Linked DNA regions of Homo sapiens: regions 1, 3, 4 and 5 are each linked to region 2. Evidence: promoter capture Hi-C in 16 types of primary human blood cells and fetal thymus (Javierre and others, 2016). All regions are on one chromosome and are shown on one strand. Each heading gives the region's core, a stretch centred on a gene start or on the middle of the fragment in contact. The rest is flanking DNA. Distances are from core to core; before and after follow the strand shown. Region 1 holds the start of MGAT3-AS1 (MGAT3 antisense RNA 1). Region 2 holds the start of TNRC6B-DT (TNRC6B divergent transcript). Region 3 overlaps MGAT3 (beta-1,4-mannosyl-glycoprotein 4-beta-N-acetylglucosaminyltransferase). Region 4 holds the start of TAB1 (TGF-beta activated kinase 1 (MAP3K7) binding protein 1). Region 5 overlaps MIEF1 (mitochondrial elongation factor 1).

What was found. The method cuts DNA at HindIII sites, captures the fragments that hold promoters and counts their contacts. A CHiCAGO score of 5 or more calls a contact.
Region 1: a contact is called between the fragment with the promoter of MGAT3-AS1 here and the fragment with the promoter of TNRC6B-DT in region 2, in 6 of 17 cell types (M2 macrophages, total B cells, M1 macrophages and 3 more). The highest score is 6.0, in M2 macrophages.
Region 3: a contact is called between a fragment that was not itself captured here and the fragment with the promoter of TNRC6B-DT in region 2, in 11 of 17 cell types (activated CD4 T cells, total CD4 T cells, naive CD4 T cells and 8 more). The highest score is 8.6, in activated CD4 T cells.
Region 4: the fragment with the promoter of TAB1 here is called in contact with the fragment with the promoter of TNRC6B-DT in region 2 in 6 of 17 cell types (total B cells, naive CD4 T cells, fetal thymus and 3 more); the score reaches 9.9 in total B cells.
Region 5: a contact is called between a fragment that was not itself captured here and the fragment with the promoter of TNRC6B-DT in region 2, in 2 of 17 cell types (activated CD4 T cells and total CD8 T cells). The highest score is 5.8, in activated CD4 T cells.

Annotation. Positions count from the first base shown.
Region 1 is chr22:39,474,383-39,479,312 of GRCh38, reverse strand. MGAT3-AS1 (MGAT3 antisense RNA 1) reads left to right here and starts at 2,491. Exons shown (of 2, transcript NR_126469.1): 1 at 2,491-2,855; 2 at 3,374-3,506. The region is part of intron 1 of MGAT3 (beta-1,4-mannosyl-glycoprotein 4-beta-N-acetylglucosaminyltransferase); the gene reads right to left. RefSeq lists enhancers at 366-867, 4,505-4,930. The HindIII fragment of the contact is 5,409 bases long and covers 1-4,153 here.
Region 2 is chr22:40,040,960-40,046,267 of GRCh38, reverse strand. TNRC6B-DT (TNRC6B divergent transcript) reads left to right here and starts at 1,738. Exons shown (of 1, transcript NR_163486.1): 1 at 1,738-3,138. It overlaps FAM83F (family with sequence similarity 83 member F), which reads right to left. Exons shown (of 5, transcript NM_138435.4): 5 at 2,734-5,308. It also overlaps a transcript of TNRC6B not described here. RefSeq lists silencers at 685-754, 765-984 and enhancers at 1,285-1,404, 1,715-2,014, 2,096-2,743. The HindIII fragment of the contact is 12,286 bases long and covers 1-5,308 here.
Region 3 is chr22:39,492,146-39,497,513 of GRCh38, reverse strand. It overlaps MGAT3 (beta-1,4-mannosyl-glycoprotein 4-beta-N-acetylglucosaminyltransferase), which reads right to left. Exons shown (of 2, transcript NM_002409.5): 2 at 5,320-5,368. Among named protein-coding and RNA genes, the nearest start is that of MIEF1, 7.5 kb to the left of the region's middle. RefSeq lists enhancers at 1,198-1,247, 1,064-1,564 and silencers at 1,643-1,742, 1,833-1,892. The HindIII fragment of the contact is 8,247 bases long and covers 1-5,368 here.
Region 4 is chr22:39,396,281-39,401,436 of GRCh38, reverse strand. It overlaps TAB1 (TGF-beta activated kinase 1 (MAP3K7) binding protein 1), which reads right to left and starts at 1,657. Exons shown (of 11, transcript NM_006116.3): 1 at 1,602-1,657. The coding sequence starts at 1,634. RefSeq lists a silencer at 1,299-1,438 and an enhancer at 1,599-1,718. The HindIII fragment of the contact is 4,460 bases long and covers 1-3,543 here.
Region 5 is chr22:39,511,091-39,516,786 of GRCh38, reverse strand. It overlaps MIEF1 (mitochondrial elongation factor 1), which reads right to left. Exons shown (of 6, transcript NM_019008.6): 3 at 5,349-5,499; 4 at 4,761-4,938; 5 at 4,293-4,555; 6 at 1-3,270. The coding sequence starts at 5,492. The coding sequence ends at 2,464. Among named protein-coding and RNA genes, the nearest start is that of ATF4, 6.6 kb to the left of the region's middle. RefSeq lists an enhancer at 5,686-5,696. The HindIII fragment of the contact is 6,684 bases long and covers 408-5,696 here.

The DNA.
Region 1 (4,930 bases), core at 1,242-3,741, 570 kb after region 2:
GGCTGGAGTACAGTGGGGTGGTCAAGGTTCACTGCAGCCACAAACTCCTGGGTTCAAGTGATCCTCCCACCTCAGCCTCCTAAGTAGCTGGGACTACAGGTGTGTGCCACCACTCGGCTGATTTTTTAAACATTTTTTTGTAGAGAGGAGGTCTCCCTACATTGCCAAGCTGGTCTCGACCTCCTGGGCTCAAGTGATACCTCGGCCCCCCAGTGTTGGGATTGCAAGCGTGGGCCACCGCCTCTGGCCGGTCCTGGGTCTGTTGGGATAGGTGGTAGAGCATGGGCCAGGTGCTTCCTGGCAGCCAGGTGATCCTGGAAGAGGGAGGCTGAGGCTGACCCAGGATGGCAGCAGGCAGGCCTCAGGCAGTGGCCATGGCCTGGAGGGTCTGAGCTGGACAGATTTCCTTCTTTCCCTCCCTCTTCCCACTTCTTGTGCCATTTTTCTCTAGCTCTGCTTGGAAGCCTGACGGGCTGTGAGGGAGGGAAGCTGATGAGCCCAAACTCCATGACCCAGCCATGACCTCATAGTCAGGACTCAGGTGGAGCCCAGCCAGGGGCTTCTGGCCAGGGAGAAGGGAGGTGCTCTCTGGAGGCCACTGGCTGTGATGGTGGGAGCTGGCCAGGCAGGTAGCAGCCTCCCAGGTGCAGACTCACACTGACAGCTGTCGCTTGGTGAAGGGCGGCTCCTGTGGAGCTCTCCGTGGTCCTGAGCTTGCCCGTGCTGGCCAGAGTCCTAGCTCAGTCCCCAGGGTGCCCTTGGCTGGCCTCACCCTGGCCCCTGCCACCCACCTCCGTGGTTCAGACGGCTCATGTCTTAACAGCCGGTTCCCCTGTCCACCACCCTCTGGCCCCTTCTCCGCCTGCCCCTCAACACCTGATGTCTGGCGTCTTCAGCTGGGGGACAGCCACTGGGCACTCCTCCAACTGGGAGAAGGGGCCAGCTGTCACATGTCCAGCAGTAAAGCAGGCCCAACACCCAGTGGGCACTCAGGGCATCCCTGTAATGTCCATGAGGGGCATTTTGGAGGATGCCAGAAACAACCTCAGTCTCTACTTCTGGGCAGGAAGTAGCCCATCCACTGCCCCCAGCCCTGGTACACCTTGGGGTGGACCCGCACTACCTCTCCAGGAGTTAGTTCAACTGTACGAAAGGGCTTCGCGCTGAAGCCCGTCTCCCTGTGCTCACCTTCCACCCGGCCTGGTCCTGCCCCATGTGACCTAAGGGCTCTGCCACCTCCAAAAAGAAGGCAGGAGGCACATCTTTGCAGCAATCCCTGCCATGTACAGCAGCTCCTGGGGCACAAGGTAGGCCAGTGGCCACAATGGCCAGATCCGAACACTGCTTGTGGCCTTGGCAAGTCACTCTGCCTCCCCGTGCCTCAGTTTCCCCCTCCACGATACGGAGGTATAACCGTTTCTGTCTCACAGGGTTGTTGTGAGAGTTGAGTGAGTTAATCCCCGCAAAAAGCTAGGGACCATGCCTAAGCACACAACAGATGCTCAGGACACGCCGGCTCCACTGTTACTGGAAGTCTGGAGGATTTGGTTTGAATCCCAGTGCCATGACTTACTTGCTGTGTGCCCTTTGGCAAGTTACTTAGCTTCTCTGGTCCTCAGTCTTCTCCGATCTAAAAGAAAGATGTCACCCTCTGTTTTGCAGTCCTGTGGGAGACCTGGCTGAGCCACGGTGTCAAAGCATTCTGCATGGAGCCTGGCCATTGGCAGAGGTTCTATAAATGCATGGTTTTTTTTTTTTTTCTTTCCTTCCATTTGGGTTTCCCGCTGGACGACCAAATACAGATGACCCCCTGAATATGCCAGGCCTTGCTCCTGACCGGCTTTATTTCCTTTAAGAAAGGTAACAAAGACACCTTTGTTAAGGTACAAAAGGAGGTGGGCCAATTGCGGGGCTGCTTCACCCTGACTGGCACCCTCAGCCTGTAGGGCCTTTCTCAGTAACTCACCAGGCATTCAGGACCTAGGCCAGAATCTGCGGAATCCGGCCCAGCCGAGGCCTGCAGACTCCTCTCCTGGGTCCAGAGGGCCTGCAAGTAAGAATTTGGTCCAAGGCTTCACCCCAGGCCAGTGCCTCTGCATGTCCACTCCCACGGGCCGCCCATTCCAATCCCTTTGGGCTGCTAGAAGTTCTTCCTTCTGTTGACCTTCATCAGTTTCCCTGGAGCTTCTGCTACTGGTTCCTTCCCTGGGGTATGGCAGAGGGAGTCGGCATCTCAGGAGTCAGAAGACAGTGAGCACCTCCCCGGACTCTGAAACTAAATGCAGCTTGAGGTTTCAGGATCCCACATGGGGAGACAGGTAGAGGCGGTGGCTGCAGAACATGGCCGATCCTGGAGTCCCGGCGAGACTGAAGAAACAACTGCTGCTCTGCTGTCCTCCCCTCTCATCATCTGACTCACTCCTTTGACTGACAACCATCCACAGGGACGCCTACACAAAGTGGTCACTCTGCAGTCGACGTATCATCCCAGCTACTGGTGGTCATCGGGGACGCAGATATGTGTGTCTCCATTTTGCAGATGAGGACATGGAGGCCTCAAGAGGTTAAGTGACTTGCTCAGCCACACACAGCTGATGGGAATGAAACAGACGGAAACGGAGACTCCCCAAGCTGACAGGCGGACTACAGATCTGGGGGTTCTGCTCCAGGCTCAACACAAGTGGCCTGGGCGAGGGAGGGCCTGGTAGACCATGACACCCAGCATCGAGGAATTCTGCTTCCCCAGCAGGCTCAGAAGGAAGAAGTCTGCTTCAGGGGCCAGGCCTGGTCAAAGACTCCATCTTCCCTGGATGGCCAGAGTCAAATCCTTGCAAATCCCGTTCACCATGGAGCAGGTGAGACAGCTTCTGCTGTGCCCACCCATGGATGAAGAAACTAGGCCAACAGAGGAGAGACAGAGCTACAAGGGGAGCAGTTCTTAGATTAGGCAGGCAGGGTTCAGGAAAGACAGGGTGCCCAGGCCACCAGAATACCCACGAGAGTCTGGGCCTCATGGAGTCAGCCCCACTCTCTGCTGGCTCAGCTCCAGGGTGGAGGCCTTGCCAAAGGCTCAGCCCAAGACCCATCCCAAGAGCCCTTTCCATGGCAACCCCACCCCTCCCCCACCTCCAGTCCCTGTGCACCACTCTCTCCCCTCCAAACCCATCCCCATCAGCTGATCCCAGCTCCCTGCAGGCTGCCTGAGGACTTTCCCACGGAGTGGCCGGCAAGTGCCTGGGAAAGTTGGTTCCCAAAGCTGGGATCTACCCCTGCTAGGACTCCACCCCTCCTGCACTGGTCACTGGTCCATTCAGGACATCAGCTCCTCATCCCCAGAGGCTCATTCCATAATGTTTTTGTTTTTGTTTTTTAGAGACGAGACCTATGTTACCCAGGCTGTATGTGAATTCCTGGACTCAAGCAATCCTCCCATCTCAGCCTCGTGAGTAGTTGGGACAAGTCTCACACCACCATACCCAGCTTAATTTAATTTGAATTTTAATAGCTGCATGCTCTAGTGGTTCCTACGTTAGACTGTGCAGTTTAGACTGAACGGAGAGGGCAGGAGGCAGGGAGTCAACCGGGTCCATCGTGCCAGCACCGCTGGAGAGATGGGGCTGCACTGAGGGAGGACCCTCATGGGGACAGTCACAGAGCTGGAGCAAGGGAGCATCCCAGGGCGCCAAGCCTGAGAGACGGCCCGTGATGAAGGGGAGGGCCAGGGGCGGGGCAGTGGTGAGCTGATGCCAAGGTCTTGGCTGAGAGAGGCTCATAGAGCATTGGTTAACTACAGGAGGGAGGGATGCAGCTCTGGGGGGCTGCCTGACACCAGGGTGCAGGGGCATTAGGCAGGTGATTGGCAGAAGGAGACCTCGGGAGGGGAGGTGGGCTAAAGGTGGGCCTCAGGGCCCGATACACAGATGTACAGACACATCCCATGGACTGGTCCCATGGGCACTGAGGACAGCTCTTTCCCAGCCAGGTCCCTGGAACTCCCCTCCAGGTGCCCCAGGACCTGAGAGAGAGGTGGAGTGAAGGGGGAGAGAAAACAAAGCCCAGGGACTCGCCCCCAAAAAACACAATCAAGAAGATGCTCCCAGCTTTTCAATTTCAGACACTGAGCTCCTCGCAAGATTTTGTTGGAAGGAAAGCTTCTACAGTTAAAAAAAAAAAAAAAAAAAAAAGCCTGGCAAGCCCTGCTGTGAATTCATCCCTCACTCCACACCAGCAGGGAGATGGAGGCCCTGAGGAGGGGGTGATTGGTGAAGGCCGCACCACAAGCAGAACCCAGGCCTCTCTGACTCCAGGAAGGCAGGGGCGCTGGGCTGGGGCTTTTCCATCTCGGATCCTCAGTCCCCAGTCCAGGCAGAGAGGGACCTTATCAGGGAGCAGAGGGCGGATGTCCCAGCCGGGGCTAGTGGTGCATATGCACATTTCAGGAGGGCCCGAGGGCTCTGACTGCCTCTTACACACAAAGCCTGGAATGGAGAGATGTAAACTTGGCCTGGGGGAACAGGCCAGGCCAGAAGTGAGCAGTGGCTCCTGCCCGAAGCACCCAGAGCAAATATTCAGTGAATGTTTGGGATTAGCCAGAGGAATGAGTACTGCTGGTGGCATTTCAGGCACAGGGCTCTTTATCTCTCAGGGAGAGGAAAAGGGTCCCCTCTGCAGGGCCACACATGACCACAGACCTGCTGTGTGCAGAGCCAGGAGGCAGTGGGAGCCCGTGAGGGCTGGGCCAGTGTGCAGGGAAGGTGCTTGGGGCTGTGAGAGGGTTGGGGGTGATGTGAAGACTGTAGCACTACTGGCCTCGCTTCATTCCACCCCCACAGGCACACAGGGCCTCAAACTCGCAGCTGGCAAGTGACAGCAGCAGAGTCCACACCCACCTGCGGCCTTGGGGCTTCTCAGAGTTTCAGGGGCAAAGTCC
Region 2 (5,308 bases), core at 489-2,988:
ACAACACTACCCAAAACACATCTGTACTTTCGAAGCCAAGATCACTGATGATTCTCCAAATCAAGAGAAACCTTATACTACTGAAATCTCCCACAGCGAAGAGAGAAGTAACCTCTATTAGTAAACTTTCACAAAATGCTAATGTCTATCATTTCTACACACTTTATATATATACTTAACTGTTGGTGGGGGCACTAATGTTTCATTCACTGATTCTTGGCTTGTTTTATTCACTATGAAGAAATATCTTTGACCAATTTTGTATAATTTTGCTTAAATTATAATACAAATGACCAACTTGAAATTCACCATCCTCTCGTTCAATCTCTAGCACTGATGCTAAAAAGTAATAAAACAGCCAAAACACATGAGAAAGCACGAACTTAAAGTCCCAGGCTGGTAACCTGAATTCCAAAGAATTCAGAATAAGCTGGTCCTTAAGGCGCTTGACTAGAGGTGACCGTTACTGGACGTCTTTAACCACTACAGCGTGTCTCGCTGGATCGGATGTCCAGCCTCTACAGCCGAATAAACCGGTAGTCTGGAACTGAAGGGCACCGGACCACGGGAAGGTGTAAAAACACTCTCCGTGCCCCTCGTTTCCTTGTCCAGAGTCTGAGCCGCCTCCCCAAGTGGCCGCACACGCAGGGCCCTGGCGAGGGGTGTGGAACGCATTCACCTTGTCACGCAGGTCCTGCACACAGGCCGGGACGCTGCGCAGGGACCCGAGGATCCGAGGCCTGACGCCTCCCTCTGCCACCGCCAGCCAGGGGCGGACGCGCCTCCGCGGGCCGGGAAGGTGTCCCCGCGCCGAGGCCCCCCGGAGACGGGAAGCGAACTCGACGGCCGGGCCAGCCCACCCGGAAGCCCTCCCCCAGCTCACACCTGCTGGCGCGTGACGCCCGGAGCCGCGCGCGCGCCCGCCAGTGCCTGCCCGGCCGTTCGGGGCGCCCCGGCCCGCGCGCCGGACGTCGCCCCGAGTCCCTCCCCGCCCCTCGACTCAAATCTCGGCGGCGCCCGCTCCCGCGGAGCGCGCGCTCAGCGCCGCCGGCCGCACCAGCCCCGCGCGCGCTCACGCCCCCTCCCCGGCCCGCTCCCCGCCCCACGCGCGCTCCCTCGCGAGGACACGCACACGCCGCGCCTCCGCTCACCGCCCCGGGCCGCGCCGCGCGCCCCCGGGGGCGCCCTCGCCGACCCCCGGCCGCCCCGCTCCGTCCCGGCGGGGCGCGGGGGAGGGGAAGGACGGCGCGGCCGCCGCACCTCACTCACCGCCGAGCCGTGCCGGCTCCGAGTGCGCGGCGTTTCGCTGTGAGGCGAGGCGCGCAGTCTCCGCTTCTCCGCAGACTATGGAGGCGACGTCGTAGGGGGGACTGAGGGGCGCAGGGGTCACTCCCTCCCGTTTCGCCTTGCAGCAGCACGGGGACCCCAAAAACTAAAAACAAAATAAACAAACTTTCCCCTCCGCATCCCTCCCCCAAAACCACAACACAAACACTCGGGGGCCCGCCCAGAGCCCCACTCCATTGGCCGCAGGGAGGATGCTTCCGGCTCTCACTGGCTGGCTTTTGTGCCCGTCAAGCTGTCGTTCCGCCCCTCCAATTCCTCGTTGCTGCCTTCGCCCCTCATTGGTTAAGTGCTTCCCGTTTAACGAGCTAGGATTGGCTGAGCTGCCTGAGCCAATCATGTGGGGACACACCCCCTCAGCATCCCAGAGGCCGCTTCCTCGGTCGAGGACCCAGAGAGACTCAGGGGAAATTAGAGCATGATGGCGGCCGAGGTCGCTTGGCGCAACCATCGTCTTTTTTCTTTATTTTTAGCTCATTAGTGCCTTGCCTCGGCGCTGTTTCCCTAAGCTCCTCTCTCCAACCAGTACTGCCCTATAACGGAATCCATACGTGCCGGCTCCTTGATTTATCCCCTCCGAAGTGCTGAGTGTGGGCTGGTTGTGCGTCATTGGACTGTCAGGATGTCACTCCCCAGTCAAATCTTCAAGCTATTGGTGGAACAGCAAGAAAGCCCGTCCATCAACAAGGGCTAATACCATTGGTTTGACTCCACTGTGTTATTTCCTGGCACCTTATTGGGCAAATAGGTGCGTCAGATCCGGATTCGCTCTGCTACGGTTAATTGTTTACTGGGGATTTGGGGTCAACTCTGGTTGTTTGGCCAGTAGTTGACGATAATAGTGACTCCCTTGCCTATTTTGTGCCAAGTATTGGGCTGCTTTCTTCACAAACATTATCTGGTTAAACCTGGGAGTAATGCAGTATCCAGTTTTTATAGATGGGAAATTAAGGCTGGCGAGAGCTTAGAAAACTTGCCCAAGGTCATCCAGATACAGAGTCGTTGGTGGGCCTGGCATCTGGTCCTGGGTCAAACTGCAGAGACTTCACTCTTTTTATTATGCTTTAGTGCCTCCACCTTAGACGATGTACTTGTCAGCCAACCTAGCATCTTAAAAACGTTTCATTTGGAACTCAAAGTCTTCAGTCAGTTTCTAGAAGTGACTTTGTTGGGGACTTACTATGGAAAGGTTGTCATTGCCTCCACCACATCTTCCTCCCCAGGACCCATTCCTCTCCCCTTTAAGGTAGACATTTCTGCCTCCTTTTATGCGAAGCCTAGGCACCACTCGCAACCCCTGACCAACCATCTACAACTCATTCTTTGGAGAGAGTCCTCAAGAGCTGGAAAACTAGGAGAAATCAAGTCTAAAGAGAGAGACAGAATAAATCGTCTTAGAAATGAATAATTTATTGCATGCAAAGAGAACAGCCCTTCAGCTCCTGGAAATCTTCCAGGATAGTTGATGCTGAGCAAGACGTGTGCTCCTGGCTGGTGGCCACTGGGTTCTTTCCCTATAGCAGCATTCATCGAAGTGAATCCAACATTTCAGCCAGAGGAGGGCAGGACGCTTAGGACCCATTGCCAGTGAGCTTTTGCGACCGAAATGATCTCCAGGAGCACAACGCTGGACTCTAGCCCACATTCCATCTTGGGTAATTAACATTTTACCGTCCCAAATCCCCATCCCCTGTAGCTTCAGTGGGATCACCGCCCTTGTTTCACTTCCTGATCCAAGCTGTTGTGTAACCTCCTTGGCACTGCTTTAATAATAAAACAACCATTGTAACATAGTAACAATGCTCAACACTTAGAGCCTTTCAGCAAATGAAGCCAAGGTATTTCATAAACGTCAATTAAGAGTAAGTGGCATGTATTCCTAGGGCAACTGCAAGAAGGACAGAAGAAAGATCGTGCGTCAAATTCTAATATAGGTTGTAAGAACGTGAGTCCTTAAAATTGTATGCACATACCCCATATTAGCCTTCCAGTATGGGGATTCTGAACTCAAAAACACAATGAATGAGAAACATTCAGAATCTAAAACCTTCCTAATCTTCAAAGTTGGTTGCTTGGACCCCTATTTTAGCACTTAAGTTGGTGCTTGACTTTCTGGGTAATTGTTTGATACATTTCAGTTGTAAGTACCTTGAAGCAGATGGTTTCTTTTTCATCTTTGTGTCCTTCACATTGTTCTGATCGTAAAAGGCCCCCAAATAAATAATTACTCAGTAAATGTTTAGTGAGCATGTCAGGCACTTTTACTAAGTTACAAAGGCTATGCAGATGAGTGATACACTCTCTCTTCCTTCAAGGACCTCAGTCGAGTAGGGGTGTCCAGCAGATAAGCAGATAACCATGATGCAGTGCTGTGAGAAGGTGCCCTGGAAGCAAATGGTAGGGACATGGGACTCCATCTCGGGAGGGACAGAAATGGCTTCCTGGAAGAAGTGACACCTTCAAGGAGAACTAAAGAATGAGTTACGGTTAGCTAGGCAAGAGACTGGTGATGTGTGGTGACCTACGACATTTGCTCTCTGGTGGCAGGGAGCAGAATGGGAATATCCAGAGATGGCCAAAGCCTGTTCTTCTTAGAATCTTTGTCCATAAAGGCCTCAGCAATTTGTCCACTCCACCTCATTGTGCCTTCCCTCCCAGAGACAAAACAAATGCCTGAAACCTTCTCCTATTTGCCCACTTGAGAATAGGAAAATAATTTCCAAATAAGATGGCCGTTTTTCTGATCATAAAAGTAACATTGAGGCCAGGCACATTGGCTTATGCTTGTAATCCCAGCAATTTGAGAGGCCAAGGCGGAAGGATTGCTTGAGGCCAGGAGCTTGAGACTAGCTAGAGCAACACAGGCAGAGCCCATTTCTACAAAAAGAAAGAAAATAAATAGTTGCGCATGGTGGCCTGCGCCTACAGTCCCAGCTACTTGGGATGCTGAGGTGGGAGGATTGCTTGAGCCTGGGAGTTCAAGGCTGCAGTGAGCCACACCACTGCACTCCAGCCTGGGCAATAGAGCAAGACCCTGTCTCAAAAAAAAAAAAAGTAACATTGAGTAAATATAATATTAACTCAATATTTAATATTCTGTATTTCAGACAATATAGAAAGTTATAAAGTAAAAGCCGCCCATAGTCTGTTACATCCAGACACTGTTAAGGAGACTATCTTCCCAGACTCTTTTATGAACAGACCCACAAATGAGTTTCTTCTTCCAACAAACAGTGGGATGTGGTTCAGGGTCTTTTCTGGGCTCTCAGAGCTCTCATCACCCAGAACTGCGGCTTTGGATGGAACCTGCCCTCGCTTTCTATACTTATAGGAAGGAAGCCAATCTGTCAATCAAATATTTATTGTGGAGAAGATGGGTTTCAATTCCTGTCAGAGCCAATGGCAGGACTTTTGGGGCTTACTCAGCCTGGTGTGAATGTTAAGCCAATGATTGGGGTGAGGGCGTCTGCCCTGTAGGGCTTACAGGCATGCCTTGGTGCCTGCGGAATCAACTCATACCCTGAAAAGGCAGCCCAGGTCAGAGAATGCTATGCCAGGGTGCTCTCTTGTGCTTGCTCTCATTTCCTCTCTGCATGCTACTTGGGGAAAATATTTTTCTGTTTGTTTGTTCCAACCCACCCAGCTTTCAGAGTAAAAAGACTCGTTAAGCCCTGCACACTTGTATGCAGGCCAAGTGCACTATGTTCTTGGAGCGCTGTGCTATTCTTAGCGCTCTATATGTGGTGTTCTATACAGTTGGCTTTTTGCTGGAGGGGAAGGCAGATTTCATGAGTGATAGCTGCCTTGGCTGGCTACCAAAAGTGCTCTGAGCCATCTCAAGCAACAGGCCTTCCTTTTTTCCCTTGAGAGGTTGTGTTGTGATCCCTGCCCTCGGCTTGGACAAATTCCAAGGCAATGGGAATTTTTGTGAACAATTCTGCAATAACCCACAAGCTGGGGGAAG
Region 3 (5,368 bases), core at 2,039-4,538, 550 kb after region 2:
CCTCTGTGCCACGAGAGCTAAGTGGAGGAAGAAGCAAATATACAAGTGGAAGCGCAAAAGAAGAAAGATGAAGCCGGGCAAGGTGCCTCACACCTGTAATCCCAGCACTTTGGGAGGCTGAGGTGGGCAGATCCACTTGAGGTCATGAGTTAGAGACCAGCCTGGCCAACATGGCGAAACCCCATCTCTACTAAAAATACAAAATTAGCCAGGCGTGGTGGCACATGCCTGTAATCCCAGCTACTTGGAAGACTGAGGCAAGAGTATCATTTGAACCCAGGAGGTGAGGTTGCGGTGAGCCGAGATCGTACCATTGCACTCCAGTCTTGGCAACAAGAGCAAAACTCTGTCTCAAAAAAAAAAAAAAAGAAAGAAAGAAAGAAAAGGAAAAAAGAGGCCGGGCACGGTGACTCACACCTGTAATCCCAGCACTTTGGGAGGCCGAGGTGGGCGGATCACGAGGTCAGGAGTTCAAGACCAGCATGACCAACAGGGAGAAACCCCATCTCTACTAAAAAATACAAAAATTAGCCGGGCGTGGTGGGGTGCACCTGTAATCCCAGCTACTCAGGAGGCTGAGGCAGGAGAATCGCTTGAACCCAGGAGGCAGAGGTTGCAGTGAGCCGAGATCGTGCCACTGCACTCCAGCCTGTGTGATAGCGTGAGATTCAAAAAAAAAAGGAAAGAAAGAAAAGCAAGTGAGATGCCAGTCACAGCTGTGCCTGGCCCTCCCACTAGGAGACAATGCAGCACAATGAGAAGGGTATTGGAGCCCCTGGTCCTAAATCCTGGTTAGGAGCTGCATGCCTTTGAGCAATTCATGCCCTTAATCTCCCTAAATCCTGGGATCCCCCCTTTAGTCTTCGCAGGCTGGAAAATGGAAGGGCCCAGCTCTGAATATCACTCAGTTCCGTGGGAGAAAAGCTGACACTCCAGTGAGTGCCGGCAGCGCCCCCAGAGGATTCCATGAGGCAATGTATGCAAAGTGCTGGCCTTGTACATGCTCAGGGCTCCACAACCGTCTGCTTCTTCCTCCAGTGAGTTTGCACTCCAGGCAATATTTAGTAACGTCTGGAAACATTTTTTGGTTGTCACATTTGCAGAGGTGGGTTCCACTGGTATCGAGTGGCTGGAGGCCAGGGACGCTGCTTCAGCGCCCTACATTGTACAGGACAGCCTCATAGCAAGGAATGAACTGGCCTGCGGTGTCAGCGGTGCCCAGCCTGGGAAACACCGCCTACTCTCAAACACTTTTGAGCTCCTAGAAAGCAGAAAAATGTGTCTCGTCTTGCTGTTGTTGTTGTTGTTGTTCTTGTTTTTTGAGACAGGATCTCAGTCTGTTGCCCAGGCTGGAGTACAATGGCATGATCTCAGCTCACTACAACCTCCACCTCCCGGGTTCAAGCAATTCTCCTGCCTCAGCCTCCCGACTAGCTGGGATTACAGGCGCCCACCACCACGCCCAGCTAATTTTTGTATTTTTAGTAGAGACAGGGTTTCACCATGTTGTGCAGGCTGGTCTCGAACTCCTGGCCTCAGGTGATCCGCCAACCTCGACCTCCCAAAGTGCTGGGATTACAGGCATGATCCACCGAGCCCGGTTTAGGTTGTTACCTTTGAATACTTTGTGGACACTCATGTGGATGAGGGCCTGGCCTTGTCCCGTGTGGCCTTCTAGAAGGCCCAGTGCTCTAACCAGGGCCTGCTGTGAGGCATGCTGGGTCTTCAGAAGGCAGCCTGGCAGGACAGGTAGCAGGTTCTAATTACACCATAGGGGGTCCCATGTGACAGTTAATAGCAGTGCCAAGTCTGGGCCAGGTTGGGCCAATAACTGGGGGGCAACCTACCCTGTAGGCAAGGCCTTGCAGAGGAGGAAGTTTGGGCCAGAGAATACCTGCTGCCCTCTGGTGGTGTCTTTTTAAAAAAGGAATTTGGCTGGGCAGGGTGGCTCACAACTGTAATCGCAGCACTTTGGGAGGCCATGGTGGGTGGATCACCTGAGGTCAGGAGTTCAAGACCAGCCTGGCCAACATGGTAAAACCCCGTCTCTACTAAAAATACACAAATTAGCCGGGCTTGGTAGCGGGCACCTGTAATCCCAACTACTTAGGAGGCTGAGGCAGGAGAATCACTTGAACCCGGGAGGCAGAGGTTGCAATGAGCCAAGATCATGCCGCTGCACTCCAGCCTGGGTGACAGAGTGAGACTCCATCTCAAACAAACAAACAAACAAACAAAGGAATTTATGGGCTCAGATTTTTATAGGAAGCCGAGTTCCATTTAGGCCACATGGTATTTGAGGTGACATTGACACCTGGGGGCTTCGTGCAGCAGGCAGCGGGCTTCATGGGCTGGGTCCTTAGGAAAGAGGACTCCCTGGAGAGATGGATCCAGCTCCACGTTGGTAAGCACTGAGAACTGCAGGTAGAGAGTGGATCCAGGGCCAAGCCCTGGGGAGCCCCCTTATTGAAGGGGTGCGTGGGGAAAAAGGAACCAGGAAGACAACCAGGAAGAAATGTCATAGAGGGAGGAGGAAGAGGAGAGCCACGAGACAGATGAGTCACAGAGGCTAAGGGAAGCAGACCCAGGAAAGGAGGCATGACCCACGCATCACATGCAAGGAGATGGAAGGTGCAAATGGGGCCACGATGCTGAGTGCTCACGCTCATGGAGCTCTCACCATGCTCCAGGCTCTGCTCCAAGCTCTGAGCATCCTCACAATCACCGCTGGAGGTCTGTCCTATGACGGTCCTGTGTTACAGATGAGGACCCAGGAGAGGGAGGTGACCAAGGGCTGGTGGCTGGTGAAAGGCCTGTTGGAGGCAGCTGAGGCTGTGCCAAAGGTACCATCTGGGCCCCAGATTTCTTTTGGAGAACCACCTTCCCTTTTCCTCAGCCAGTAGACACAGGGCTCTGATTGATCTACGTGAATTGGCAGATTCCATCCCAAGCCCCTCCAGTCTCACTGATGCATTCAGGGATATTCACGTGACCTAAATCAAGTCAGTGAGATCCACACCCAGGACTCTGAGAGAGAGGAGCTCTATTTCTGTTGTGCTGAGCGTAAAGCTGAGATGGTGAAGCCTGAAGCTGCTGCAGCCGTCTTGCAGGCATGAGGGGTAAACCTGTCTGAGACTTGGGACAATGCAAGTTAGGAAGTGGAGCTGTGCTCAGCCACAAGAGAGCTGGATGACAATGTGACTGTACCCGAAGCCGACATTACCCCTGAACTTTACCATTAGTAAACCAGTAAATTCCTTGCCTGCCTCACTGGTTTGGGTTGGTTTTTCTAGTTTGCCTCACTAGTTTAGGTTGTCATTAAATGAAAGCAAACTGTACCAGTTATCTATGGCCACAATTAAGCTGTGTAAGAAACCAAGAAACTTAGCAGCAATTGGGCTCATGAGACTGGATCAGTATTTAGGCTGGACTTGACTAGGCAGTTTTTCTGGTCTCAGCTGGGCTCACACACGTTGGTCAGCTGGGATGAGTGGGAAAACCAGGCTACATGTGGAGGCCACCATGACAAACATTTGAGTCACTGTTGATGTTTTGCCTCTAGAAGCTCTTGGCCATCCAAATTCCAGGATAGGAATTTGGAAAGTGGTTGGTGAAACTGATGCGGGGTTGGGCTTTTCTGCAAACACTTCAGATAAACAGAATTGCAAGAAATGCATTCATATGAGAGAAGCTAGTCTGTTGCAGATTGTCTCTCAGTTCCGGTTTGTGTACTGTTTCCTTGGGATTCGATCCAGGTGGTTCATTTTTAGCAGCAGACTTCACAGGTGCTGTGGGGTCCTTTTACAGACGTGGAAAATGGGTATAATGGGGAGGGATGTCTTTTAGCTCAGAGTTTGGCACAAAATAGGCACTTAATCAATAATGTCTGTAAATACTGATGATGATGATGATGATGATGATGATGATGATGATTCACCATAGGACATGATTTGAGGGTTGTTAACTTGATCTTAAACGGCATGTGGGTCAATAATGCCCTCTTCTGGCTAGGTAGGGTGTCTACATCTTCTCCACTTCCTCAACCCTGTGGAATTCAACCCTCACCCCATCCCCACTCCAAGTACCTGCAGCAGGTACCTTTCTGGGCTTTGTGAGTGTGGCCAGAAGTCCAAGCAGTCCCAGCCCGCAGGTGTCAGACTGATGCATGCGTGACACTTTGCGAGTGGTCAGAAAACATGAGCCCTTGCTTTGGCCACCAGGACTGTGGTCACACCTCCTTCCATCTCTGGGCCTCCGTCTCTCCATCTAACATGGAGGTTGCACAGCCACCCAACAGGGGACCATGGCAGAGCTCAAAAGGTGTCTGTTCAGCCGGGCGCGGTGGCTCACGCCTGTAATCCCAGCACTCTGGGAGGCTGAGGTGGGCGGATCACGAGGTCAGGAGTTCGAGACCAGCCTGACCAACATGGTGAAACCCCGTCTCTACTAAACATAGAGAAATTAGCCAGGCCTGGTGGCACATGCCTGTAATCCCAGCTACTCAGGAGGCTGACACAGGAGAATCGCTTGGAGACAGGAGAATCGCTTGAACCCAGGAGGTGGAGATTGCAGGAGCTGAGATCGCGCCACTGCGCTCTAGCCTGGGCAACAGAGTGAGACTCTGTCTCAAAAAAAAAAAAAAGTGTCTGTTCCCACCGCCTGAGACTGTCTTTAGGACACACACAGGGGACCCCCAGGACAACTCCAGTGCCCACCCGGCCCAGAGGAAGCTCCTTGGAAGCCCTGACATCCCAAGGCTCCAGGTGCTGTCCAAGCACAAGTTCAAGGTTGGCTACATGGGAGGGAGATACCTGCTCCTGGGAGTCCAGAGAGTCCGGTGCTGAGAGTCCAGGTCCAGAATCTACAAGGCTGTGACCTTGGATGAGGCATTTAGAACCTGACAGGAAAAACTACTGAGGCAGGAGCACTTATTTTGATGCCCCAGAGCAGAATTGTAGAACCACCCCCTCTCTGCAGAGGCACCAAAGCCTTCATCCAGATCCCCAAAAGGGTCCCTGCCCACCTGCAGGAGGGTGGGTGCCCCTGGTCCTAGGAGCCTGGTTCACTTCTGCTTCCTTCCACCAGACCTCAGCCCAGCATCCTCCACTTCCCAGCTGCTTCCACCTGCGGCTGGGGGACACGTCATCCCTAAGTGAAGGTGCTCCCTGCAGCCCCCTCTCCCCACTGGCCATCCAGTCCTTGGGAAGTTCTTGCACCCCATGGATCCAGAAGTAAGGGTGTCTTTAGCAAGACCAGAGCCACCTGTTCCCACCCCTCCCTGCCCCAGAGCACCCACAAACCGGCCACACATGCACACAATTCAGACTTTGTAGCTGTTTTTATTATTAATATTATCTTCTCCTTTAAG
Region 4 (5,156 bases), core at 408-2,907, 640 kb after region 2:
GACCTTGCCCTCTGGGAACTTACAAAGCAGAGGGCCAGCCGTCTAAAATCAATGCCAACTCGGTAACAAGACAGACGTGCCCAGCAGTAATAAAATAAAGGAGTAGTAAAGGTGTGGAGGGGAAGACAGCAATCCCCACTGGGGAGGCCTGGGAACTGTGCTCCTGGGAGAATAATTTCAAGGCTCTGGTTCCAGGTTATCCCTGAGCCAATGTCTACTCACCTCTGTGACGCCAAGGGCGAGCACTGGACCTGGCTACAAACCTTTACTCATCCTTTCACAAATGTATTTATTGAGTGCCCAGCACATGGTGATAGATAATAGAGACACAGCGGTAAACAAGAGATCACAGGTCCCTGTCCTCAAGGAGTTTACTTTCGTTTTTTTTTTTTTTTTTTTTTTGAGACACAGTCTCGCTCTGTCGCTCCAGGCTGGAGTGCAGTGGCCCGATCTTGGCTCGCTGCAAGCTCCGCCTCCTGTGTTCAAGCTAATTCTCCTGCCTCAGCCTCCCGAATAGTTGGGACTACAGGCGCCCCCACCACGCTCGGCTAATTTTTGTATTTTTAGTAAAGACGGGGTTTCACCATGTTGGCCAGGATGGTCTTGATCTCCTGACCTCGTGATCCACCCGCCTCAGCCTCCCATAGTTCTGGGATTACAGGCATGAGCCACCGCGCCCGGCGGAGTTTACTTTCTAGTACAGGAGGCAGACAAGTCCATAGACAATTCTAACAGTGCCATGCATAGGAAGGACCCAGGAGGCCAGCACCCTACCCTGGTAGGTCAGAGTAGTCCATGGTGCCAACATGTGTGTGCATCTATGTGCACATACGCGTCAGAGGACGCAGGGCCTGGAAGACAGCGCCAAACCCATGAGGGTCCAGACCGGGGGTAGGGATGAGTCTGAAGACAATTCTTCCACTCAGCGCTCTCGCCTTAGGAGAAGGAAACTGAGGCTGAGGGAGACACAGTCAGAGCCAGGACCAGAACCCAGTGACAGCTACCACTGGTCATTCCTTTAGTACAGCCCAGGGGTTAAGGGGGTTTCTGGAATCACACTGCCTGATTTTAATCCTGCCTCAATACGTACCATTTGTGTGGCCTTAGGCAAACGACCACCTCAGTGTCTCAGTCTGTCAAATAGGAATAACAGTAGCACCTATCTCAGGGGGCTGCTACGAAAATGAAACTGACAAATGTAAAGCAATTAACACAACGCCGGGGATGCAGTAAGCGGTACACTGTGGATGCTGCTGTTATTATCATTGCACGTCTGCTCGGTGTCGCAGTGGGCTCGAGACTCGGATAGCTCTGCTGCCGCCCGCCGTGTTCCCTTCTGGCTCCAGGACGCTCCCGCCCTCGACGCCCGGCAGCAGCAGCCCACAGCCCCGGCGCCCTTGACCCGGGGGCCGGGCCCGCCGCGCACACACGCCCTGGCCTCGGGAACGAGGGGGCCAGCCCGAGGAGAGGAGAAGGTGGCTGACACACCCCACCACGGAGAGGGTGGCTGTCCAAACTCGGAGAAGGAGCCGTTCCTGCACCCGACAGCACCCCCGCCCAGGCTCCCAACCCCAAGCCCAGAGAGCGGGCCTGTTCCTCACACTCTGCAGCAAGCTCCTCCTCTGCGCCGCCATCTTGGAGGAACCCCTGCGGGAGCGCCCGCCTCCCCGCAGAGCAGCGAGTGGGGCGGCTAGAGCGGCCCGAAGGAGGCGAGGATGACCGCGCTGCCGGGGAGCATGCGCCCAGCGCCACCCCACGCCCGAAGAGGGATGGGGGTCGTAGCGGACCGTGTGCGCAGGCGCGCTCTTGCACGTTTTGTTGTTGTTGTTGTTGTTGTTGTTTTGTTTTGTCTTTTCCTCGGGGCCGATTGCTCCTCGCCCATCTTTATTATTTTTTGAGATAGGGTCTCACTCTGTCACCCAGGCTGGAGTGCAGTGGCGCGATCACAGCTCCCTGCAACCTCTGCCTTCCGGCCTCAAGCGATTCTCCTTCCTCAGCTTCCCGAGTAGCTGGGATTACAGGTGCCCGCCTCTCCTGCCCCAGCCTCCGGAGTAGCCGGGACTACAGGCATGAGCCACCACGCCCGGCTAATTTTTGTATTTTTAGTAGAAACGGGGTTTCGCCATGTTGGCCAGGCTGGTCTTGAACTCCTGAGGGTTCTTTGTGAACACAGTTGGTAAGGGGAGGACAATTCATTCACTCAGCAAATGCTACCTAGGTGACCCTGCTTGGCTCTATAGTGGGTTCTGCAGCGAGCAGGACAGGCCTTCAAAAAGCTAACATTTTATTTTATTTTATTTCATTTCATTTTATTATTATTTTATGTTATGTTATGTTATGTTATTTTTGAGACGGAGGCTTGCTCTGTCGCCCAGGCTGGAATGCAGTGGCGTGATCTGGACTCACTGCAACCTCTGCCTCCCGGGTTGAAGCGATTCTCCTGCCTCAGCCTCCCGAGTAGCTGGGGTTACAGGCGCCCGCCACCACGCCCAGCTAATCTTTTACATTTTTTGTAGAGACGGAGTACCGCTATGTTGGCCAGGCTGGTCTCAAACTCCTGGCCTAAAACGATTCTTCTGCCTGGGCCTCCCAAAGTGCTGGGATTACAAGTGTGAGCCACCCCGCCCAACCTAAAATGTTAACATTTTAATTGGAGAGGACAACATTTATGTATATAAGACATTCTGCCGGGGGCAGGCGCGGTGGCTCATGCCTGTAATCCCAGCACTTTGGGAGGCCGAGGCCGGTGGATCACCTGAGGTCAGGAGTTCGAGATCAGTCCAGCCAACATGGTGAAACCCCATCTCTACTAAAACTACAAAAAATTAGCCAGGCATGGTGGTGCACGCCTGTAATCCCAGCTACTTGGGAGGCTGAAGCAGGAGAATCACGAACCTGGGAGGTGGAGGTTGCAGTGAGTGAGCTGAGATCACTCCACTGCACTCCAACCTGGGCAACAGAGTGAGACTCTGTCTTAAAAAAAAAAAAAAAAAAAGCACACTTGTCACGGGAGCCCACTGTGGCTTGCACAGAGTTGGAGGAGAGAGATGAAGGGGTTGTAGGGACAGGCTCTGACCAAGTGGGCCCCAGGCAGGAGTTTATTCATCTGGAGGACAGAGGGAAGTTGTTGCCTTCTAAGCAAGCCATTGACAGGGTCCCATTGGTAGAGAGATGTTTGACTCCCAGGTTCAAGCGATTCTCCTGCCTCAACCTCCCAAGTAGCTGGGATTACAGGCATGCGCCACCACGTCTGGCTAATTTTGTATTTTTAGTAGCGATGGGGTTTCTCCATGTTGGTCAGGCTGGTCTTGAACTCCCGACCTCAGGTGATCCACCTGCCTTCGCCTCCCAAAGTGCCGAGATTACAGGCGTGAGCCATTGCACCTGGCACCTGCCTGCTTTTTATAAAATTAAACAAACATTCATTTGCAAGCCATCTCTCCCTGACCCCCACCATTTAAAAAAAAAAAAAAAACAGGTTCTCACTGTGTTGTCCAGGCTGGAGTGCGGTGGCACAATCATGGCTCATTGCAGCCTCAAGCTTCTGGGCTCAAGTGATTCTCCCACCTCAGTCTCCCGGGTAGCTGGGACTACAGCATGTGCCACTGCGCCCGGCTAATTTTTGTATTCTTGTAGAGACAGGCTATCACCATGTTGCCCAGGCTGGTGTCAAACGCCTGAGCTCAAAAGATCCTCCCGAGCTGGGCGCGGTGGCTCATGCCTGTAATCCCAGCACTTTGGGAGGCCGAGGTGGGTGGATCACGAGGTCAGGAGATCAAGACCATCTTGGCCAACATGGTGAAACCTCGTCTCTACTAAAAATACAAAAAATTAGCCGGGTGTGGTGGCATGTGCCTATAGTCTCAGCTACTTGGGAGGCTGAGGCAGGAGAATCGCTTGAACCCGGGAGGCGGAGGTTGCAGTGAGCCAAGATCGCGCCACCGTACTCCAGCCTGGGCGACAGAGTGAGACTCTGTCTCAAAAAAAAAAAAAATTAGATGGACATGGCAGTGTGTGGCTATAATCACAGCTACTCGGGAGGCCGAGGCAGGAGAATTGCTTGAACCTAGGAGGCGGAGGTTGCAGTGAGCCGAGATCACGCCAGTGCACTCCAGCCTAGCAACAGAGTTAGACTCTGTCTCAAAAAAAAAAAAAAAAAAAAAAAAAGATTCTCCCTGCTTGGCCTCCCAAAGTGCTGGGATTACAGGCATGAGCCACCGCGCCCGGCCACCACTGTCTTTGTTTTTAAAACCCCTGCCTCCCAGGGATGTTACAAGGATTCAATAAAGTAACATCTTCCAAGCCTTTAGAACAGGAACAGAATCTGCTCCAAATATGTGGCTTCTCTTCCCTTCCCCAGACCCATTTCCCCATGATCATGCCATATGCTTCTACCATTTCACCTTGGGATGCTGCCAACAGTTCCAAAAACACAGAAGGTGCTTCTGAAGGCTGCGCCATTGGGCGCCCCAACTGCTTTTCGGCCAGTTATCACCTTTATCAAGATATCCTTGCTCATCAGGCCTGTGACAAACTGAGTGGAGCCAGAAGCCCAAGAGAGGGGGCAGTTAATTCTGCTGGGGGAGTCAGGGAAGACTTCACAGGGGAGGTGACCTTCCAGCTGGGTCTGGGAGGGCAGAGGGATTGAGCAGAGAAGATAGAAAGCGCATCTCAGGCCAAGGGATCGCATGGTCAAAGTGAGGGGGGAACTGGCAAAGGCAGAAATTGACTGTGGCCGAGCTGAGGAGAACAAATCAGGGAGGGATATGGGTGCAACAGAAGCAATTGGCTTTATCTTGTAAGGGTAGGGACTCATTTAAGTGGGAGAGTCACATGATCATATTTGTGTTTCAGAGGGATCCCACTGAGTCAGACAGGAAGCAGGGAGACCAGTATTAGGAGCCTGCTGGGATAACCCAGATAAGAGAAGGAAGGAGGTGGCCGGGACCAGGATGGTGGCCATGAGGATAAAAGAAATGGACAGTTTTCAAAAATATCCAAATAGGTCAAGTAGAAAGACTCTGGCAGTTGATTGGAAGCGGAAGAAAGGGGAGTGGAAGATGACTCCCAGGTTCCTGGCCCAGGCCGTCGGCCCAGTGGTGGAGGATCTGCCGAGACAGGGCCACTAGAGGAGGGCCAGGTCTGGGCCTGGCAGG
Region 5 (5,696 bases), core at 2,500-4,999, 530 kb after region 2:
ATGACAATTACACTCAACTTAAATAACTTGGGACTCTTTAAAATCTTATCTTTTTTAAGCTCTTCTTCCAATTTTTATTTTTTTGAAATAGGGTCTCACTCTGTCACCCAGGCTGGAGTGCAGTGGCACGATCTCAGCTCACTGTAACCTCCGCCTCCCGGGTTTAAGTTATTCTCCTGCCTCAGCCTCCCGAGTAGCTGGGATTATAGGCGCCTGCCACCACGCCCAGCTTATTTTTATCTTTTTCGTGGAGACGGGGTTTCACCATGTTGGCCAGGCTGGTCTCGAACTCCTGACCTCAAGTGATCCACCCGCCTTAGCTTCCCAGTGCTGGGATTACAAGCATGAGCCACCGCACCCAGCCTCCTTCCAATGTTTTATGTGAAATTTGGTCAGAGATGCAAGCTTGGGAAAACTTAAATTTTTTTAATACTCATGGCAGGGAAACCAAATCCTTTATCTCAATGAATAATCTATACTTTTGCAACACTCTATCAATCCTCTCCTCTCCCTTACCTCTAACGGATACCCAGTGGGTACACAGGAACCCTGTCAAGCTCTACCCCATACCTTCTAGATTCATCCAGGATGGTACTCAGGCATACAGATTTTTTTTTTTTTTTTTAACTCTCATTTGAGTCTGACCAACAGACAGGGTAGATGAGCTCTCTCAAGATTCTCAGCTTTATGTTTTTTGTTCCCTCTCAATACCTTTATGCAAATGAAACTGAAACCACCATAAGAAATCCTTGTTAAGGGGAAAAGAGGCAAAAAGACCTCTAAATATAGTCAAGGTTAACCCTAGTTCTCAATTTCCTAATCTGTGACAAAAGAGGGGCAGGAATCTCTACCCTAAATTGATGTTGAGGTATCGATGCTAAAGAGTCATTTCCTGTTACTATCGTTGGGAAGGAATGAGACAGCTGCAGAGAGCTTCACCAGAACCTCAATGATGGAGAGGTAGTCATTGAAAAAATAAGACAACTTGACGGAAGGAAAACAAAATACTGAATGGGCAGATGAGAAACAGAATTATCATCAGAGTCTTGCTACAAACAGGGAAAAACACAAACCAAGATGACACACGGACATGGTAGATTAAACATTCCTCCCCACCTTCAGGATACATTTACATTGCAATAAATACTGCAATCTCAGCAGCGGCAAACAAGGAGGAATGTAGGAAATGCCCACCTCCTCCCCTCTGTCTTATCTGTGTGCTCTCTTCCTTGGTAGCACCGATCTCCCCAGGTGCTGGGTGAGAAACAGGACAGGGGGAAGAGGTCCGTGCATGCTCACTTGCCCTCTGGCCGTGCCCGGAGCGCTCAGCAAACACCCCTCTCACATTCCTATGGCAGACGCTGGAGGATGAAGGGCTGGCTGTTGGGTCTGTTCTTGCTCTAAGGCCACATCCTAGAAAAGCAGGGCCTGTCTGGGTAGAAAACATGGCCACCAAACCCCAACTAGTGACTGGATTTTCCAGCTGACATTCAGTCGACTGTCTACCTCCATCATCCTCACCTGATGTCTAAGGCTGCGTTCCTTCAAGGCCTTGTCCTGATTGGCAATAAAATAAGGAAAAGGTGTGAAAACCAGCATTCATGATGAAGTGGTGCCCTGGCAGTCCCCATCCTTGTCTGTCTGACCCCTGCAGCCACAGATGACGAGCAGACACTGGGCACACAAACCCTTCACTAGGCCCTTAACCAGCTCTGGTTCCCTACTCTGCACTTCTGCTAATAGCCACCAAGAAATTCAACCTGCAAATAACTTTGCATTCAGCTTATCCTGTGTGGGTCATTAACAGTGTTCCCATGAGAGACATTCTCAGCATTTATGAATGGGTCAGGAGGTTGGGGGGAGGATGGACTTCTACTCCAGGAACCGTGGTCAAAGGCCAACTCTTCTACCAGCCTCACTCCCAGAAACCCTAAATACTGTCTCAGCACTCGCTCTGTAGAGTTCAGCTTTGAAACATGCTATCACAGCTCTTCAGTGGCATTCAACTAAAAGGCAACATCTTAATTAGGCAGATATGCTCCAGGGACAAGAGCAAAACAGAAGGCATGAACGAGAGAGGAAAAAATAGAAAAGACACTGAATAGGAACAGGCAAACGGGCAAGGCAGACCAGATAGAGGCAGCAAACATGGGCCAAAACGCAAAACACCAAGTGGTCCATCAGCTCAGGCCAGCACGCCACCTTCTCAATTCATTCCAGAAAAATTAGCCTGGAGCCAGGGGGCGGCAGAGAGCACAGTGATTGGTAACAAAAATAGGAAGAGTTGGGTAACAAAATAGGAGACGAAAGAGATGTCATTCTAATCAGCATGAAGTGACCAGGGTGATGATCAGCAAGACACCAGGCAGCAGGAACCCTGTGAGGCACCAACTAGGTAGCCAAGTGTATCTAACGGAGAATCCAGGGCCTGACCACCAACACCCGCTTTGGCCTTCACCTGCCCTACGTCTGCAGCAGCACCTCTGGCTCAGACAATGAGCAATACAGAGTGTATCCTAATTCGTCTATTTCTTCAGGGGTGAGCTCTGCAAATAAGTTCACCTTGGGGTTTAGGGCACTGGGCAGGACTCCAGCCTCTAAGTAGCTGATAAGTCCCCTCAAGGCCTGCAGGAAACGGTCGGCCAGCATATCCGGAGACCAGTCAGCCTCCTCCTGGGCCAAGTGGAGGATGACATTGGTTAGCTGGCTGGCAGTGAGGTGGCCCAGAGCCGGGGTGGACTTGCATATGGCCTTGAGGATCTTGAGGCACAGAGATCGGCAGCCCGAGTCAGCCTGGTCCAGAGCCCGCAGGCGTGCCGTCTCCGCGGGACGCAGGCTCAGCCGCCACAGGTTGTCATACTGGGCTAGCCGGTGTGGTTTGGCCACCAAGACTGTGTCACCGAGGGTCACTGATGGCAGGAAGTCAATGAAGAGATGTTTGTCACGCTCATACTGCACCTCCAGTGTGAGGGCTTCTGGGGGTGGGGCCGGGCGGATCACATAGTCCAAGAGGGACCCTATGGCTGGCCAATTGATGGAGCCAGCCACTACCTTCTCAAATGTATCTGCGACTGTCTTTGGAGAGAGGTAGCCCCCTACTACACAGCGGTCCCAGTAACTGCTCCCACGAGGAAAGTACTCTGGATTCTCACGACGCACCAGGAAGAAGCCAGGGACATTCATGATGGTGTCTTCACCAGGAATACATGACCACAGGTTCTGCTCCAGCACAAGGGGCACAATGAGTTGGATGTGGTCAGCTGTCACCACCTGTCAGGGCAGAATTTAAAGGGTTTTGAGGGTTTACTCTGTTCAAAAGACATGCTTCCTCTAAGACGGTTCCCACCATCTTACATTCCCCCCCAGCAAGAATGGGAACTCTAGGCCGGGCGCAGTGGCCCATGCCTGTAATCTCAGCACTGTGGGAAGCTGAGGCGGCTGGCTCACTTGAGGTCAGGAGTTCAAGACCAGCCTGGCCAACATGGTGAAACCCCATCCCCTACTAAAAATACAAAAAAATTAGCCAGGCATTGTGGCGTGTGCCTGTAATCCCAGCTACTCAGGAGGCTGAGACAGGAGAATTGCTTGAACCCAGGAGGCGGAGGTTGCAGTGAGCCAAGATCGTGCCACTGCACTCCAGCCTGGGCAACAGAACAAGACTCCATCTCAAAAAAAAAAAAAAAAAATTCTTTCATGTCACCATGCAATCTACACAGAGTGAGAAAACTAGAAAGGAGAGATGGGCACAAGAATATAGGAAGGAGGAGGCCTCTTATAGCTTCCTAGAAGTTGTAAGTAGGACTAAAACATGAGAAACGATTAAAGACACAAGAATAAAGAATAACAGGCCAGGCTCACGCCTGTAATCCCAGCATTTTGGGAGGCCGAGGTGGGTGGATCACCTGAGGTCAGGAATTCGAGACCAGCCTGACCGGCATGGCAAAACCCCGTCTCTACTAAAAATACAAAAAAATTAGCCAGGAGTGGTGGCACACACCTGTAATCCCAGCTACTCGGAAGGCTGAGGCAGGAGAATCGCTTGAACCCAGGAGGCAGAGCTTGCAGTGAGTCGAGATCGCACCACTGCACTCCAGCCTGGGCGACAGAGTGAGACTCCGTCTCAAAAAAAAAAAAGAATAACAAGCATGGATCTCCAAATGCTGCTGAGGTACACAGGATTCGGAAGCTGTAAGACCTCAGTCTTTCTGGCAAGCCTGGGACACTGATCTGTGCCAACAACACTATGGTGCTCAGCACTCAAACCCCACCCACCATGAGAACCACCTTGTTACCTGCAGGTCATCGTAGAGGCTGCCACTCAAGTACATGTCCCGAAGCGGCATGTCAGGCAACTTGGCCCGCAGGAAGCTCCGGAGCTCGGCACATATGTCCACAGCAGCTTGCTTGGCCCGAGCCTGCTCTCCAGCAGGGATGGCTGCCCGGTTCCGGTAGTAAGTAAGAAGTTTCTCCTGCAGGGACATGCGGAGTCGTGACTTCTTCAAGTCTACCTGGCCCTTCCTGGCCACTGGCTTGGGCCGGGGCGGGCAGAATGTATCTGCCAAGGCAAGAGAGAGAGGCACGTGAGCTCTGCCCATGCCTGCTCAGTCCACAGCTGCCTCAGCCCCAGAAAGAAGGGCCTGGCATGGAGGGCAAGTGCTGGCACAGTGCCTGGCACAGATGTGCTCAGGAAACATCTGCTGAGTGCAGGAGTGGTACTGAAAGTCCAGAGAGGTCCCAGGAGGGGCAGCAGCCCTTCTCACCTGTGTCGAAGGTGGAGGAGTCTGTGGGAAGGGTCTGCAAGGACCGGCTCAGGCCCGTCTTCATGTCCCTGTTCAGCAGTCGTGGGGAGCCCATCCAGTTGGGTTCTTCCCAGCTCCTTTTCCCCGAATGGCTCAGGCGGGTGGGGCTGGTAGGGGCACTGATCGCCCGATCGTACATCTGAAATAGCAGAGAGGACACAGGACATAAACCTGCCCTCTTTCCCTATTTCCTTCCAATTTACTTCCTCCCCAGAAGCTCTGTCCTAGTAAGTTCTTTTAGTAATTTTGTTTTTATTTTAGATTATAGAATACTTTGCTCCACGCAGAAAATCTCAGGGAAGACTACATGATATAAGACATAGATAATCCACGTCATGACCCAGAGAAAACTGTTTGTAATATCTGGTATGTTTCTTTCTAGATGCATGTAATGACGATCACTCTATACATACTTTTGAAACCTGTTTTTTTCACTTATCATTGCGATCATTTCCTCCTAGAACGCTTCGACATTTTCTTTCTATAAAACATTACATCTTATGACCATACCACTACATTCCACCCCCAGCCCTGGCTGCATGCACTTACCCGCTTAACTGCCAGCGTGGCGATGCCCAGCATGGCCGCTCCACCCACCCCCAGCACCAGCCGGGCATTGGAGAGCACAAAGTCAATGGCCGTGCCAATGCCATTGTCATCCTTCTTGCCTTTGCGCTCACCAGCGCCTGCCATTGCTCATCTGAGAATGAAGACAGAACACGGCCATAAGTACTGGGACCCCAAGAACCTCCCTCCCCTAACAAGCCAAACCCCAACAAGTACAGGGTACTCTGTGAGTTCCAGCAACCCAAATCTTCTTGCCTCCAGCACTGCATGCTTTAGGGTCTGGAGGGAGCTACAATGTCCCATGATAGATCAGGATGCAAGGAGGAGGGG